Linked DNA regions of Homo sapiens: regions 2, 3, 4 and 5 are each linked to region 1. Evidence: promoter capture Hi-C in human tissues and cell types (Jung and others, 2019). All regions are on one chromosome and are shown on one strand. The core of a region is centred on a gene start or on the middle of the fragment in contact, and the rest is flanking DNA. Distances in the headings are between cores, read along the strand shown. Region 1 holds the start of GJD4 (gap junction protein delta 4). Region 2 has its middle 230 kb from the start of ANKRD30A. Region 3 has its middle 400 kb from the start of ANKRD30A. Region 4 has its middle 430 kb from the start of ANKRD30A. Region 5 has its middle 370 kb from the start of ANKRD30A.

Region 1 (2,700 bases), core at 144-2,643:
ATGAGAAAACCGAAGCATGAAAAGCTGCAGTGATTTGCTCATGGTCGCGCAGGGCTAATTTATTCCACATTTGGGATGGGCTATTTCTATCACACAGCAAGAGTCAGTAATTGCTTTCCTGATATTTCATTTTTTTTTTAAAGCCAATACCATGAGCAGTCTATTAGGAGACAAATTCTCCTTTATTTTATACTTACACCCTGTGACTATTTCAATATTTTTACTTAACTACAATTTCTCAAATTTCCTTGCTCATGTCGAAGCATTTGACTAAAATATAGCAAAACCACTGTTCCTTTCAAGGGGGTCAAAACGTTTTCCGTGGATGGGAGCATGTCATGTGAGCAAAGATGAAAGTAGCTTTGTTGCACTCTTCTGGGAATCTTTCTAGGGATATTACTAAAGTCAAGAATAGATCAGAAATGAAGAAAAGATGGGGATATAAAGAATAGCTTTCATGGAAAATTGAAATCATTCCTTTTAAAGTTTACAATTTCCACCCTGATCATAGATCCCCAACCCTGCAGGATGGGTTCTTCCCAGATATGAAGGTGGCTGCAGCGATAGGATTTTGACGCAACTGTGATTGATGTCAGCAGGTCCAGACCGTGATATTTCATGACAGATTTAACAGACATTTATTAAGTAGATTCAATGGGAACAGCTCCAGGCTAGATGGGGCTGGGAGATACAAAGGGAAGATGTAATCTGTGAAGGTCGTAGAGGCCAATTAGGGATTGAAATCCCACGGATATGGGTTGTCGTACACCCACTTCACACCAGTTGCTCTTATTCTACACCATCATTTCACATAAGCCTCCCACAAATGGCAAGTGGAATGGCATGATTCTCCTTATTGCAAGATGAGGCTATCTGGAAGGATCCAATGACTTCCCCAGTGAGTAGGGGGCTGCCCCGGGCTTTGCACCCAGGCTTTTGTCTCCAAGCGAAGAGTTGTCACTCACTGCACAGGAAGCAGCAGGAGAATAACCAAGTCACGGTCTAAAGTTGGGACACCCAACTGAGTTTCAGATTTCTGCCTGCACCAATGACACAGGAATTCAGAATAAGGGCGAGATCCTTGTGGGTTCGTGTGATGGTGGCATGGCGATTCATGCTTGATTGAGAAGACAAAACGTGAACACTTTAAGGGCTTCTTGCACAAGTGAAGTGGTTGTGGAAATGTTTTCAAGGAGGAAATGCCTTTTTAATAGAGAAATTTACTTGGCTAGTTAGCAGAAGTTTTCTTTCTTGGGTTAAAAGTAGTTGCTGCTATTATATCCTGAAGCATCTGGCTGTCCTGGTGGGGACATATGAGCGCTGCCACAGGCCGGGAATATCCCAGGCGAGTAAGAATAGCCCACAATAAGAGATGACTGCTGCTTGCTCTGCTGGTCACTGCAGTTGTCAGGAATGTTTCGCCTCAGAGGCAAACGGCTTAGGGCCGTCTCAACTTGGAGACAGAAAAACCCACCTCCTACTCCTGGCTCAGACCTTTGCTTTCTTATCTCCAGCTCACACCTTTAAGTCTTATGTAGTTAAAGGACATTTATCCGCCTCCTTGGAGAACACAGCCCTCCAGTGTCTCCTGCAGCCTGGAGCCTGGGACATTCTGGAAGCATGGAAGGCGTGGACTTGCTAGGGTTTCTCATCATCACATTAAACTGCAACGTGACCATGGTGGGTGAGTATTGGGACCATCTCCAAACTCCTGCGCTGTTTTTATTTCCACTGCCATGGTGGAATTGAGTCCTTAAAGGGTCCAGGTATTTACTCATTTTCAGTGTGCAAGCACCAAGCTGAAAGTCCACCCACTCCCAAAAGAAAGGGCTGTGCCTTTCTGGAGGGAAGAGAGCTGAGGCTTCTAGTTTCTTTGAATGGTTCCGCGGTTCCTCCGTCATGTAAGGGAGTCTTGCGTTTGACATTGTTCTCTCACAGATCATCCTGTGCTGACACTGGGGTGCTGACTCCAAAGACCAAAGCAGGTGGAGGGGTGTTTGTGTGCAACCCTGGTGTGGCTACGTTACCAGGAAAAGGAACAGAACAACAAATGTTAATCAGAAGGTGATACCTTTAGGTTTTATTCTGGAAGCTTGGTTTTTTTTTTTTGTTTTTGGAGACAGAGTCTCACTCTGTTGCCCAGGCTGGAGTGCAGTGATGCAATCTCAGCTCACTGCAACCTCTGCCTCCCGGGTTCAAGTGATTCTCCTGCCTCAGCCTCCCGAGTAGCTGGGACTACAGGCGCCTGCCACCACGCCCAGCTAATTTTCTGTGTTTTTAGTAGAGACGGGGTTTCACCGTGTTAGCCAGGATGGTCTCGATCTCCTGACCTCGTGAGCCACCCGCCTTGGCTTCCCAAAGTGCTGGGATTACAGGCGTGAGTTACCACGCCTGGCCTGGAAGCTTAATTTTTAAGGAGTAGCCATTTCTCTTGTGCACTTTAAACCAAATCCCAAGTTTAGTTATTTTTTTTAACAAAGAAAATAATAGATTTTTGTTTAATGCAGACGACTCACATTTTCAGAGAGGTATGGGGGTCAGAAAAGGATGAATATATGCCGGAGATGCAGTTGATACTTTTCTGGCTCATTATTTTGTAGATTTAGACAAAACCAACTTGATGTTAAAAGTTCAACTCAATGACTCATCACATAATGATATTATTCTTTGTTTGACTGTCTTTACATATTTATTTTTGTT
Region 2 (2,700 bases), core at 79-2,578, 1.3 Mb after region 1:
ATGAATCTTGGTGCTCCTGTATTGGGCTAGCTCTTCTTGTTGAATTGATACCTTTACCATTATGTAATGGCCTTCTTTGTCTCTTTTGATCTTTGTTGGATTAAAGTCTGTTTTATCTGAGACTAGGATTTCAACCTCTGCCTTTTTTTGTTTTCCATTTGCTTGGTATATCTTCCTCCATCCCTTTATTTTGAGCCTATGTGTGTCTCTGCATGTGAGATGGGTTTCCTGAATACAGCACACTGATGGGTCTTGACTCTTTATCCAATTTGCCAGTCTGTGCCTTTTAATTGGAGCATTTAGCCCATTTACATTTCAGGTTAGTATTGTTATGTGTGAATTTGATCCTGTCATTATGATGCTAGCTGGTTATTTTGCTCATTAGTTGATGCAGTTTCTTCCTAGTCTTGATGGTCTTTACAATTTGGCATGTTTTTGCAGTGGCTGGAACTGGTTGTTCCTTTCCACATTTAGTGCTTCCTTCAGGAGCTCTTTTAGGGCAGGCCTGTTAGTGACAGAATCTCTCAGCATTGGCTTGTCTGTAAAGTATTTTATTTCTCCTTCACTTATGAAGCTTAGCTTTCCTGGATGTGAAATTCTGGATTGAAAATTCTTTTCTTTAAAAATGTTGAATATTGGCCCCCACTCTCTTCTGGCTTGTAGAGTTTCTGCCGAGACATCAACTGTTAGTCTGATGGGCTTCCCTTTGTGGGCAACCTGACCTTTCTCTCTGGCTTCCCTTAACATTTTTTCCTTCATTTCAACTTTGGTGAATCTGACAATTATGTGTCTTGGAGTTGCTCTTCTCGAGGAGTATCTTTGTGGCATTCTCTGTATTTCCTGAATGTGAATGTTGGCCTGCCTTGCTAGATTGGGGAAGTTCTCCTGGATAATATCCTGCAGAGTGTTTTCCAACTTGGTTCCATTCTCCCCGTCACTTTCAGGTACACCAATCAGATGTAGATTTGGTCTGTTCACATAGTCCCATATTTCTTGGAGGCTTTGTTCTTTTTATTCTTTTTTCTCTAATCTTCTCTTCATTCTTCATTTCATTCATTTCGTCTTCCATCGCTGATACCCTTTCTTCCAGTTGATCACATCGGTTACTGAGGCTTGTGCGTTCGTCAGGTATTTCTTGTGCCATGGTTTTCAGCTCCATCAGATCCTTTAAGGACTTCTCTGCATTGATTATTCTAGTTTTCCATTCGTCTAATTTTTTTTCAAAGATTTTAACTTCTTTGCCGTTGGTTCGAACTTCCTCCTTTAGCTCGGAGTAGTCTGATCTTCTGAAGCCTTCCTCTCTCAACTCGTCAAAGTCATTCTCCGTCCAGCTTTGTTCCATTGCTGGTGAGGAGCTGCGTTCCTTTGGAGGAGGAGAGGCGCTCTGATTTTTAGAGTTTCTGGTTTTTCTGCTCTGTTTTTTCCCCATCTTTGTGGTTTTATCTACTTTTGGTCTTTGATGATGGTGATGTACAGATGGGGTTTTGGTGTGGATGTCCTTTCTGTTTGTTAGTTTTTCTTCTAACAGTCAGGACCCTCAACTGCAGGTCTGTTAGAGTTTACTGGAGGTCCATTCCAGACACTGTTTGCCTGGGTATCAGCAGCGGTGGCTGCAGAACAGCAGATATTGGTGAACCGCAAATGCTGCTGCCTGATCGTTCCTCTGGAAGTTTTGTCTCAGAGGGGTACCCAGCCGTGTGAGGTTTCAGTCTGCCCATACTGGGGGGTTCCTACCAGTTAGGCTACTCGGGGGTCAGGGACCCACTTGAGGAGGCAGTCTGCCCGTCCTCAGATCTCAAGCTGCATGTTGGGACAACCACTTCTCTCTTCAAATCTGTCAGACAGGGACATTTAAGTCTGCAGAGGTTATTGCTGTCTTTTGTTTGTCTGTGCCCTGCCCCCAGAGGTGGAGCCTACAGAGGCAGGCAGGCCTCCTTGAGCTGTGGTGGGTTCCACCCACTTCGAGCTTCTGGGTCACTTTTTTTACCTACTCAAGCCTGAGCAATGGTGGGCGCCCCTCCCCCAGCCTTGCTGCCGCCTTGCTGTTTGATCTCAGACTGCTGTGCTAGCAATGAGCAAGGCTCCGTGGGCGTAGGACCCTCCGAGTCATGTGCGGGATATAATATCCTGGTGTGCCGTTTGTGAAGCCCGTTGGAAAAGCGCAGTATTAGGGTGGGAGTGACCTAATTTTCCAGGTGCTGTCTGTCACCCCTTTCTTTGACTAGGAAAGGGAATTCCCTGATCCCTCGCACATCCTGGGTGAGGCGATGCCTTGCCCTGCTTCGGCTCATGCATGTTGCGCTGCACCCACTGTCCTGCACCCACTGTCTGGCATTCCCCAGTGAGATGAACCTGGTACCTCAGTTGGAAATGCAGAAATCACTGTCTTCTGTGTCACTCACGCTGCAAGCTGTAGACTGGAGCTGTTCCTATTCAGCCATCTTGGCTCCACTCCTCCTATTTCTAGTTTTTTCTTAGGTGATGCCCTGTATGAGTGAAACACTTCAGACTAGCAGACTGGGCTGCACTGTTTCTGCGGATCAGTGATTTTAAAACACTGAGACCCCACTGAGTGTTGATCCTCTGGTCTCGTGAGAAGATGCAGCTTCATGTTGGATGTCCAGATCAGAGACACTATTTCCCTTGGTGTTTGGGCCAGCTTGCACACACACTTGTGGAGATCAACAAAGAGTGCTGACC
Region 3 (2,700 bases), core at 183-2,682, 1.1 Mb after region 1:
CTGAACCTATAAAGTGTTAGCCACAGGAGAATAAATGATAACTCAAAATATATTAGGATTAAAAACTTTTATCAAAATATTCCACATGAGAGAGTGAAAAGATAGGCCACAGTGTGTTGTATACAAACTAAAAACTCATATCCAAAATAAAGAATACCTAAAAATTAATAAGATAAAGACAATGTAATTTTGAAGATAGCCAAACAACTTGAAAAGGTACTTCAAAGAATATGACTTCAACTATTTTATAAACATATGAAAAATGTCCTTTTGTTTTTTTTGAGACAGAGTCTCCCTCTGTCGCCCAGGTTGGAGTGCAGGGGCGCCATCTCGGCTCACTGCAACCTCCACCTCCTGGGTTCACGCCATTTCTCCTGCCTCAGCCTCCCCAGTAGCTGGGACTACAGGTGCCCACCACCACGCCCGGCTAACTTTTTGTATTTTTCGTAGAGACGGAGTTTCACCATATTAGCCAGGATGGTCTCGACCTCCTGACTCGTGATCCGTCCACCTCAGCCTCCCAAAATGCTGGGATTACACGTGTGAGCCACCGTGCCCGGCTGAAAAATGTCCATATTTAATAATCCTCAGGGAGATGCAAAGTAAAGTCACAATGTAATAGCACAAGACATTCCCTATAATGGCTAAAATAAAAAGACAATACAAAGTGCTGACAAAGATAAAGAGCAACAGGAATTCTCTCCTACACAACTGGTGGGAGTGTTAATTAATATAATGATTTTGAAAAACTCTTGAACAGTATCTACTAAAAGCTAAACATGGGCATCCCCTATGATCCAGCAGTTCCTCTCTCTCAGGCATATTCTCATGAATATGTACATATAGTTTTCAAAAGACATGCAAGAATGTTTATAGAAGCCACACTGCCAAACTGGAAACTATCCAACATTTATCAACATTAAAATATTGGAGTGTATTTACACAATGGAATTCTATGTAATGAAGTCAACAAACGATTGCTACACATACCAGGCATTTATCTCACAAGCAATTTTGACTGAAAGATGTCAGACAGAAAACAGGGATTCTGGTGTGATTCTATTTGTATACAATTCAGAGATAGGAAAACAAATCTATGCTGATAAAAGTGAGGATATTAGTTACCTGTGAGAAAGACAAATGTACCTATATGGGCAACTTTTGGGAGTCTGATATTTCTGATCTTGGTGCTGATTACATGTGTGTGATCCATTTCTGATAATTTATCAAGACATGACTTATTCCTTCTAGACTTATAAATATGATATACTTCAATAAAAAGTGATGTACTCTAAAAAATTTGCTTATGTTCTCTCTCATCAGTTTTTAAAGTAGAGTGGGTGGGATAAAGACAGTGTAGCACTACTGTCCAGAAAAAAAGAAAATGGTATATTTTGGTGTCTTTTAAAATAAAAAAAGTGTATCTTAAGGAGTGTAATAAAAACACGTCTCCATGTTTACAAAGCCTTCCATGACTTGGTCCTGTGTCGCTCGCTTGGTGAGTGTGAGCTAAGTAGAAAAAATAAACATAGCAAGTGTGAAGAAGTTCGGCTGTGAGGGCAGTGGAGTGTAGCTATGAGGGTTGGCTTTGTGAAAAAGGCAAGCTCTTCTTTCCATTATAATGGACCCCCAGTCCCATGCATGAGCTCTGGAGGATCATAGCATGTGTTGGTCACTGCCCTGTCCTTTGAGCAGTCTGGGGATGGTATTCGACTTGGTGCTTAACTGGTAACCTAATAAAAGTGATGCTGCAATCCAACATGTCAGTTGTTTCTATTTCCAGGAGAATCAAGGCTGCTGCCTCTGACAAAGAGATAAAAAGTGATGACTTACTCCAGATAAACTGCTGCAGTCTCTGGATCCACTGCGGTGCTGTCCTGAAGCACTTGAAGAAGAGCATGCTGGCTTTGTTCCACCCCATTTTCCCTCTGTTTCAACCAGTCCCTGAGTTGCAAAATGTAGTTCCTTCACCATTTTTTTTCAATAATCCAGTTATACTAAATACCCTCTGATTTTTAAAAACACTAGATTAACTTGAGTGTTAATAAAAAGAGGCTGCATGTAATTTCACCAGCACTCTCTTTCTGTCTTTTACTTTGTCCACATTCAGGATTCTCTGCACACATTTCTCTGTACAACTATTCTCCTTCTTCTATGATTAAGAGAACCTTCTCACTCTTTCTGTAGCCTACCACCTGTCTACACCCAACTCCTGGAGGCTCAGCTTCTAACCCAAACTGTCTCATCAAAGCTTGTTCCAAACAAAATCAGGTCTCAAAGGAAAATTATTTTGCCAGCAGCCAAAATAATAGCATTTTCTCCTTTTTGTAAAATATGCATCCAGTGTTAATTGCCAGGTTAAAATGTTTAACCTGGAAATATTACAAGTTCCTACTTTACCCAAATGCAACTCTGCTAAAATACCGAATGCCTTAAAAGAGATAAAAACCCAAGTAGCATTGAAAACCAATGATACACGTCAGAGTATTTTTAGAGTCAGGAGTATGTTTCACTGTCTTCAAGGCTGATAGATCTGAACTGCTCTGCACTGTTATTATAAACTATGCATGATTTGCCAACTGCCATCCCTGAAGTGGAAGAAGAGATACCTTGGAGCTCACTTCATACTCCTGCTGTGAGGTACACATTCTAACAGAAAGAAACTGGGCAACCCACCTGCCAGAGATGTAGAGAAACATA
Region 4 (2,700 bases), core at 88-2,587, 1.1 Mb after region 1:
ATTACAGGTGGGAGCCACTGCGCCCCGCCAGTGCAATGCAGTTCTAATGGGAGTTGATGTCAGGGACTCAGGGGCCTCTGGGCCAGGCATGCTCTTGGGCATATTCCTAGCCCAGACCTGTCCATTCCTGGAACTCTCTATCTGAGGCCTTGAGCAGAAGTCTTCTTCACTGGCCTCTGCTGAGAATTTATCCGAGAGAAAGGGGGAAAGCTTCAAGCCACTTTTTCCTACTCTGACTCAATACTCAGTACTTTCCACCCGTGCCCTTCCCTTTCTCCATCCTCCTGGTGGTCCCCAGTCGCAGGGTCTGTAATATTGCACTAGCCTTTTACTTGAGGCAATCTCCACATCATGCTGATCCACCTGGCCCTCAGCCATTGCACCAATCCATAGGGGAAGGTAGAGTAGGGCAGACCCAGCACTCTGTTTCAGACTCTTGGTGATACCATAAGAGTAAGGGATTAAAACCACTGCTCAGTGGCTTTCATTTCTGGTTTGTCACTGATACGGACAGGAGACAGGGAAAACTGAGTAGAAAGGAGCAGTTCCCAGGCAAAGGCCCCACCCTCAAGCCTGGATACCCTCGGCCCTACATGAGAACAAGCATTCCTGTTTTCACAACCCAAAAGTTGCCTTTTGTCCTGCCACACCCCCTATCCTGCACCCATGCATATATACCCTGAACCCCAGGCTCCAGAAGCCGACCAGTAAGCCACCAGATCAGCGATGGTTGGAGAAGGGATGCGGCAGAGAAAGAGAGAAGAGGAGGAACATCTAACACCCAGAGGAGTTTAGCGGGGGCCGTTGGAGAGGAGTCCAGCAGCTGAGTGGCCCAGCTCCGGCTCCGGAGGAAGATCGCCTTCCCTCTCCATCTCCCCATTGCGGCCCCCGATCCATCCGGCTGAAAGCCACCTCCACCACTCAATAAAACTTCGCATTCATCCTTCAAGCCCGTGTGTGACCCAAGTTTTCCGTGATGCTGGGCAAGACCTCGGAATAGAGAAAGCTGTCACACTGGCCCTCTGCCCTTGCCAAAAGGCAGAGGATTCATTGAGCTGACTAACACTCAAGCCTCTGCAGGCGGCAGAGCTGAAAGAGCTTTATAACGGGGGGGGGGTTGCAGGCACCCTCCTCAGACACTACCTACCGAGGAGCCAGAGCCCAAAGCGCTTGCCCCAGCCTCTGCGCCTGACTGTCTGCATCCTCTCCCTCCTGCCAAGGGGTTTGAGCAGGCGGCACCACTGAACAGGCAAGCCACACCCCTGCCGCACATCCTGCGTCCTGCCAGGGGAATCAGCGAACTCTCCCGCTTCATCACTTTACTTGGCTACTCTGACACCTGACAGCTTAGCTGTCTCCAACTCAGCTGAGCTCCTGACAAATAGACCCTTCCTGAGTTTTCAAAATTAGGTATGATGGTGCAAGTGAAAATTATAACACTGTATGATAGTTCGGTAAATGTTTGTACAGCAAATATTTAAGACAATTATAAATATAGGAGAGGAAAGGAAGAGAAATAGAGATAAGATTTCTACACTTCACTTAAAATGACAACACCAATAAAGTGTTTTATACATAAATTATTATAAATTATATAATTAATGTAATATTAGATTATATGTGGTATATATAATATAAAATCTTACACCTAGCGCACCTACAAAAAAACCTATATAAAAAGATACATGTAAAATCACTAGAGATAAATCACAATGGAATTCTTTAAAATGCTCAAGTGGCCGGGGGCGGTGGCTCACGCCTGTAATCCCAGCCTTTGGAGGCCGAGGCGGGCAGAACACAAGGTCAGGAGATCAAGACCATCCTGGCTAACACGGTGAAACCCCGTCTCTACTAAAAATACAAAAAATTAGCCTGGCGTGGTGGCGGGCACCTGTAGTTCCAGCTACTGGGGAGGCTGAGGCAGGAGAATGGCGTGAACCCGGGAGGTGGAGCTTGCAGTGAGCCGAGATTGCACCACTGCACTCCAGCCTGGGCGACAGAGCGAAACTCCGTCTCAAAAAAAAAAAAAAAAAAAAAAAAAAAGTTCAAGTAACTCACAGAAAGGCAACAAAAAAATCAATAAAATAAGAGAAGCAAGAAGCAGAAAGCACAAATAGAAAACAAAAAAATAAAATGGCAGACTTAAGCACTCATATATCAATAATCACATTAAGTGTAAATGGTCTAAGTACACCAAAGAAAAGACAGAACCTAGCAGAATAAATTAAAATATGACTTCCTCACAGTAAAACAAAAAACAATATGATCTAACTGTATACTGTCTATAAGAAACTCAAATGTGATAATAAAGATAGGTGCAAAGTAAAAATAGAAAAAATACATAGTATGAAAAATTAATCAAAAGAAATAAAATTCACTCTCTCTCTCTCTCTCTCTCTATATATATACATAATGTTTTTTTCAGGCAGGGTCTCACTCTGTCTCTAGGATGGAGTGCAGTGGCGCAATCTCAGCTCACTGGAACCTCCGACTCCCTGGTTCAAGTGATTCTCCTGCCTTAGCCTCCTGAGTAGCTGGGATTACAGGCACACGCCACCATGCCCAGCTAACTTTTGTATTTTTAGTAGAGACGGGGTTTCACCATGTTGGCCAGGATGGTCTCCATCTCCTGACCTCGTCATTCGCCTGCCTCGGCCTCCCAAAGTACTGGGATTACAGGCATGAGTCACCGTGCCCAGC
Region 5 (2,700 bases), core at 152-2,651, 1.2 Mb after region 1:
GACATCAGTATGAACTTACTAACACTTACACATATTACACGTAAAAATATTTAGAGTTACGTGTATATACACAGCTTCGTATACACACATTTATTTCCTTGCTCTATAAGCTAAGACGGTCTAGAACCAATGATATGCCAGCAGAAATGAGCATATCTAACACTTAAGTCTTCAATTCTTGAGTTTTTGTTTGTTTTGAAACAGTTTCGCTCTTGTTGCCCTGGCTAGAGTGCAATGGCACGATCTTAGCTCACTGCAACCCCTGCCTCCCGAGTTCAAGCAATTCTCCTGCCTCAGCCTCCCAAGTAGCTGGGATTACAGGCGCCCCCCACCACACAAAGCTAATTTTTGTATTTTCAGTAGAGACAGGGTTTCACTATGTTGGCCAGGCTGGTCTCAAACTCCTGACCTCAGGTGATCCACCCGCTTTGGCCTTCCAAAGTGCTGGGATTACAGGCATGAGCCACTGTGCCCAGCCTAAGTCTTGGTTTTTAATGACTCCAATCAAGCAAACCAGACTCCTTGGAGAAATGACTGATTCTAGAAATGGAAATAGAACAGGAAATAATACATGATCTGCCTGGAACATCTAGTTAGGCCAGAAAGTAAGGAAGTATAAAAACACCACCACCACCAAAACCCATAATGTAAACACTCCCAGTGGCCAAGGCTAGAACATTTGAGCAACAAAATAAATAAAGAAGTATTGGATTATAATCCAAAATATAAAATAAATATCTGTGAGCAAATAGTCATATAAGTACATTTTTGAATAAACAAATAATTGAGAGACGGGACAAATATCCCATGCAGAAGAATTCCAAATAATTTATGTAGACACTTAGCTTTCAAGGAAGTAGAACATAATTTCTTCCTCCTTAAGTGTTCTTTCCAAAAACAATACAGTATGAATAAGGGGCAAAAACAGTAGCTTTACAGGAGAAAAACCTGATGAGCACTACCTTAGACAAGTGATCAAGGTCAACATCAACAGGTGTAAGTCATGTTGATGAGTCTGAGCCTTGATGTGAGATGGTGAAAATGGCACTTCATCTCTGCAGTCTTTCTCCCTCAAACCCCAAACTCCAGTTTAAACATGAAGGGGAAAAAATCCAACATATTAAAAAAAAAAAAAAGTCAGTTTACAAAATTCCTGACCAGTACTCCTCAAAATTCTCAAGGTCATCAAAAACAAGGAGTCTGAGAAATTCTCGTCATCAAGAGGAGCCTAAGAAGATACTGACTAAATGCAGTGTGGTGGTGTCCTAGGTGGAACCCTGGAACAGAAGAAGATTAGATACAAGATAAGGAAGTCTGACTAAAGCAGGGGCTTTAGTTAATAATGTATAAAAATTGATAATGTAACAAATGTAGCAACACTAAAAATAAAGGAAACAGGGTAAGGGGGAAGGGTTATTATATTCATAATATTCATGTAAATTGAAAACTGTTCTTAAAAAGTTTGATAAAAAATGCATTTAGGGATAATTTGTTCTACTGTTTCTCCAAATACATTGTTGACCTAATATAATCAAAAGGGTCAGAATCTAATTTAAAGAGAGTTTATTCAAGTGTGACTTGAACCATTGGGAAACTCCAGCTTGAAAGGAGTCAGTGTTTTGAAGCAGGGAAGTTAAGAGTACATTTATATAGACAGAAACAGGAGGGGTTTTTTTTTGTTTTTCGTTTGTTGTTTTTTTTTTTTCTGAAACGGAGTCTCCCTCTGTTGCCCAGGCTGGAGTGCAGTGAGTGGCTAGATCTCAGCTCACTGCAAGCTTCGCCTCCCGGGTTCTCGCCATTGTCCTGCCTCAGCCTCCTGAGTAGCTGGGACTACAGGCGCCCGGCCACCACGCCTGGCTAATTTTTTGTATTTTTAGTAGAGACGGGGTTTCGCTGTGTTAGCCAGGATGGTCTCGATCTCCTGACCTCGTGATCCGCCCGCCTCGGCCTCCCAAAGTGCTAGGATTACAGGCGTGAGCCACCGCGCCCGGCCAACAGACAGGAGTTTTTAGCAGGACCACATCATTCACACAAGGGTGGCACATAGTTACCACTTTTGTACGGTAACGATGATTGGTTATATGCAGTGTTTCTCTTGAGGAAGGATATATTTACATTTTTTTTTAACAGAAAGTGTAGTAGTCGTGGGTTTTCTGTCTTCTAGTCTAAGCAAAACAACAGAGGGGAAGTTAATCACTAACAAAGATCATTAATTAAGAAGGCAGGAGGTTTTTGTCCCTGATGTCATTTAGTAACCGCATGTGACTCCGATCACAGCCATTTCTCTCTTAATGTGTTATTAGGGGTTCCAACAGCTTTTAAATTTCATTTATTTTCAGAATATCATGGGTTAGTTGTTCCTGAGGATATTATTAAGAATGCATGTGAGGCCAGGTGCGGTGGCTCATGCCTGTAATCCCAGAACTTTGGAAGGCCAAGGCGGGCAAATCACGAGTTCACAAGTTCGAGACCAGCCTGGCCAACATGGTGAAACCCCGTCACTACTAAAAATACAAAAAATTAGCTGGGCATAGTGGCAGACACCTGTAATCCCAGCTACTTGGGAGGCTGAGGTGGAAGAATCACTAGAACCGGGAAAGGGGAGGTTGCAGTGAGCCGAGATCGCACCATTGCACTCTAGCCCAAGCGACAGTGAGACTCCATCTCAAAAAAAAAAAAAAAGAATGCATGTGAGCCACT

What was found. Contacts are between HindIII fragments. The study calls those that stand out against the background at their distance.
Region 2: a fragment that was not itself captured here is called in contact with the fragment with the promoter of GJD4 in region 1 in 1 of the 25 tissues and cell types used here (dorsolateral prefrontal cortex).
Region 3: a fragment that was not itself captured here is called in contact with the fragment with the promoter of GJD4 in region 1 in 1 of the 25 tissues and cell types used here (dorsolateral prefrontal cortex).
Region 4: a contact is called between a fragment that was not itself captured here and the fragment with the promoter of GJD4 in region 1, in 1 of the 25 tissues and cell types used here (lymphoblastoid cells).
Region 5: a contact is called between a fragment that was not itself captured here and the fragment with the promoter of GJD4 in region 1, in 1 of the 25 tissues and cell types used here (lymphoblastoid cells).

What each region holds. Positions count from the first base shown.
Region 1 is chr10:35,603,948-35,606,647 of GRCh38, forward strand. It overlaps GJD4 (gap junction protein delta 4), which reads left to right and starts at 1,394. Exons shown (of 2, transcript NM_153368.3): 1 at 1,394-1,684. The coding sequence starts at 1,621. GJD4-AS1 (GJD4 antisense RNA 1) reads right to left here. Exons shown (of 2, transcript NR_199600.1): 2 at 615-2,018. The HindIII fragment of the contact is 12,098 bases long and covers 1-2,247 here.
Region 2 is chr10:36,896,620-36,899,319 of GRCh38, forward strand. No RefSeq gene overlaps it. Among named protein-coding and RNA genes, the nearest start is that of ANKRD30A, 230 kb to the right of the region's middle. The HindIII fragment of the contact is 3,375 bases long and covers 1-2,700 here.
Region 3 is chr10:36,720,220-36,722,919 of GRCh38, forward strand. No RefSeq gene overlaps it. Among named protein-coding and RNA genes, the nearest start is that of ANKRD30A, 400 kb to the right of the region's middle. The HindIII fragment of the contact is 5,063 bases long and covers 1-2,700 here.
Region 4 is chr10:36,691,710-36,694,409 of GRCh38, forward strand. No RefSeq gene overlaps it. Among named protein-coding and RNA genes, the nearest start is that of ANKRD30A, 430 kb to the right of the region's middle. The HindIII fragment of the contact is 3,989 bases long and covers 1-2,700 here.
Region 5 is chr10:36,754,725-36,757,424 of GRCh38, forward strand. No RefSeq gene overlaps it. Among named protein-coding and RNA genes, the nearest start is that of ANKRD30A, 370 kb to the right of the region's middle. The HindIII fragment of the contact is 4,887 bases long and covers 1-2,700 here.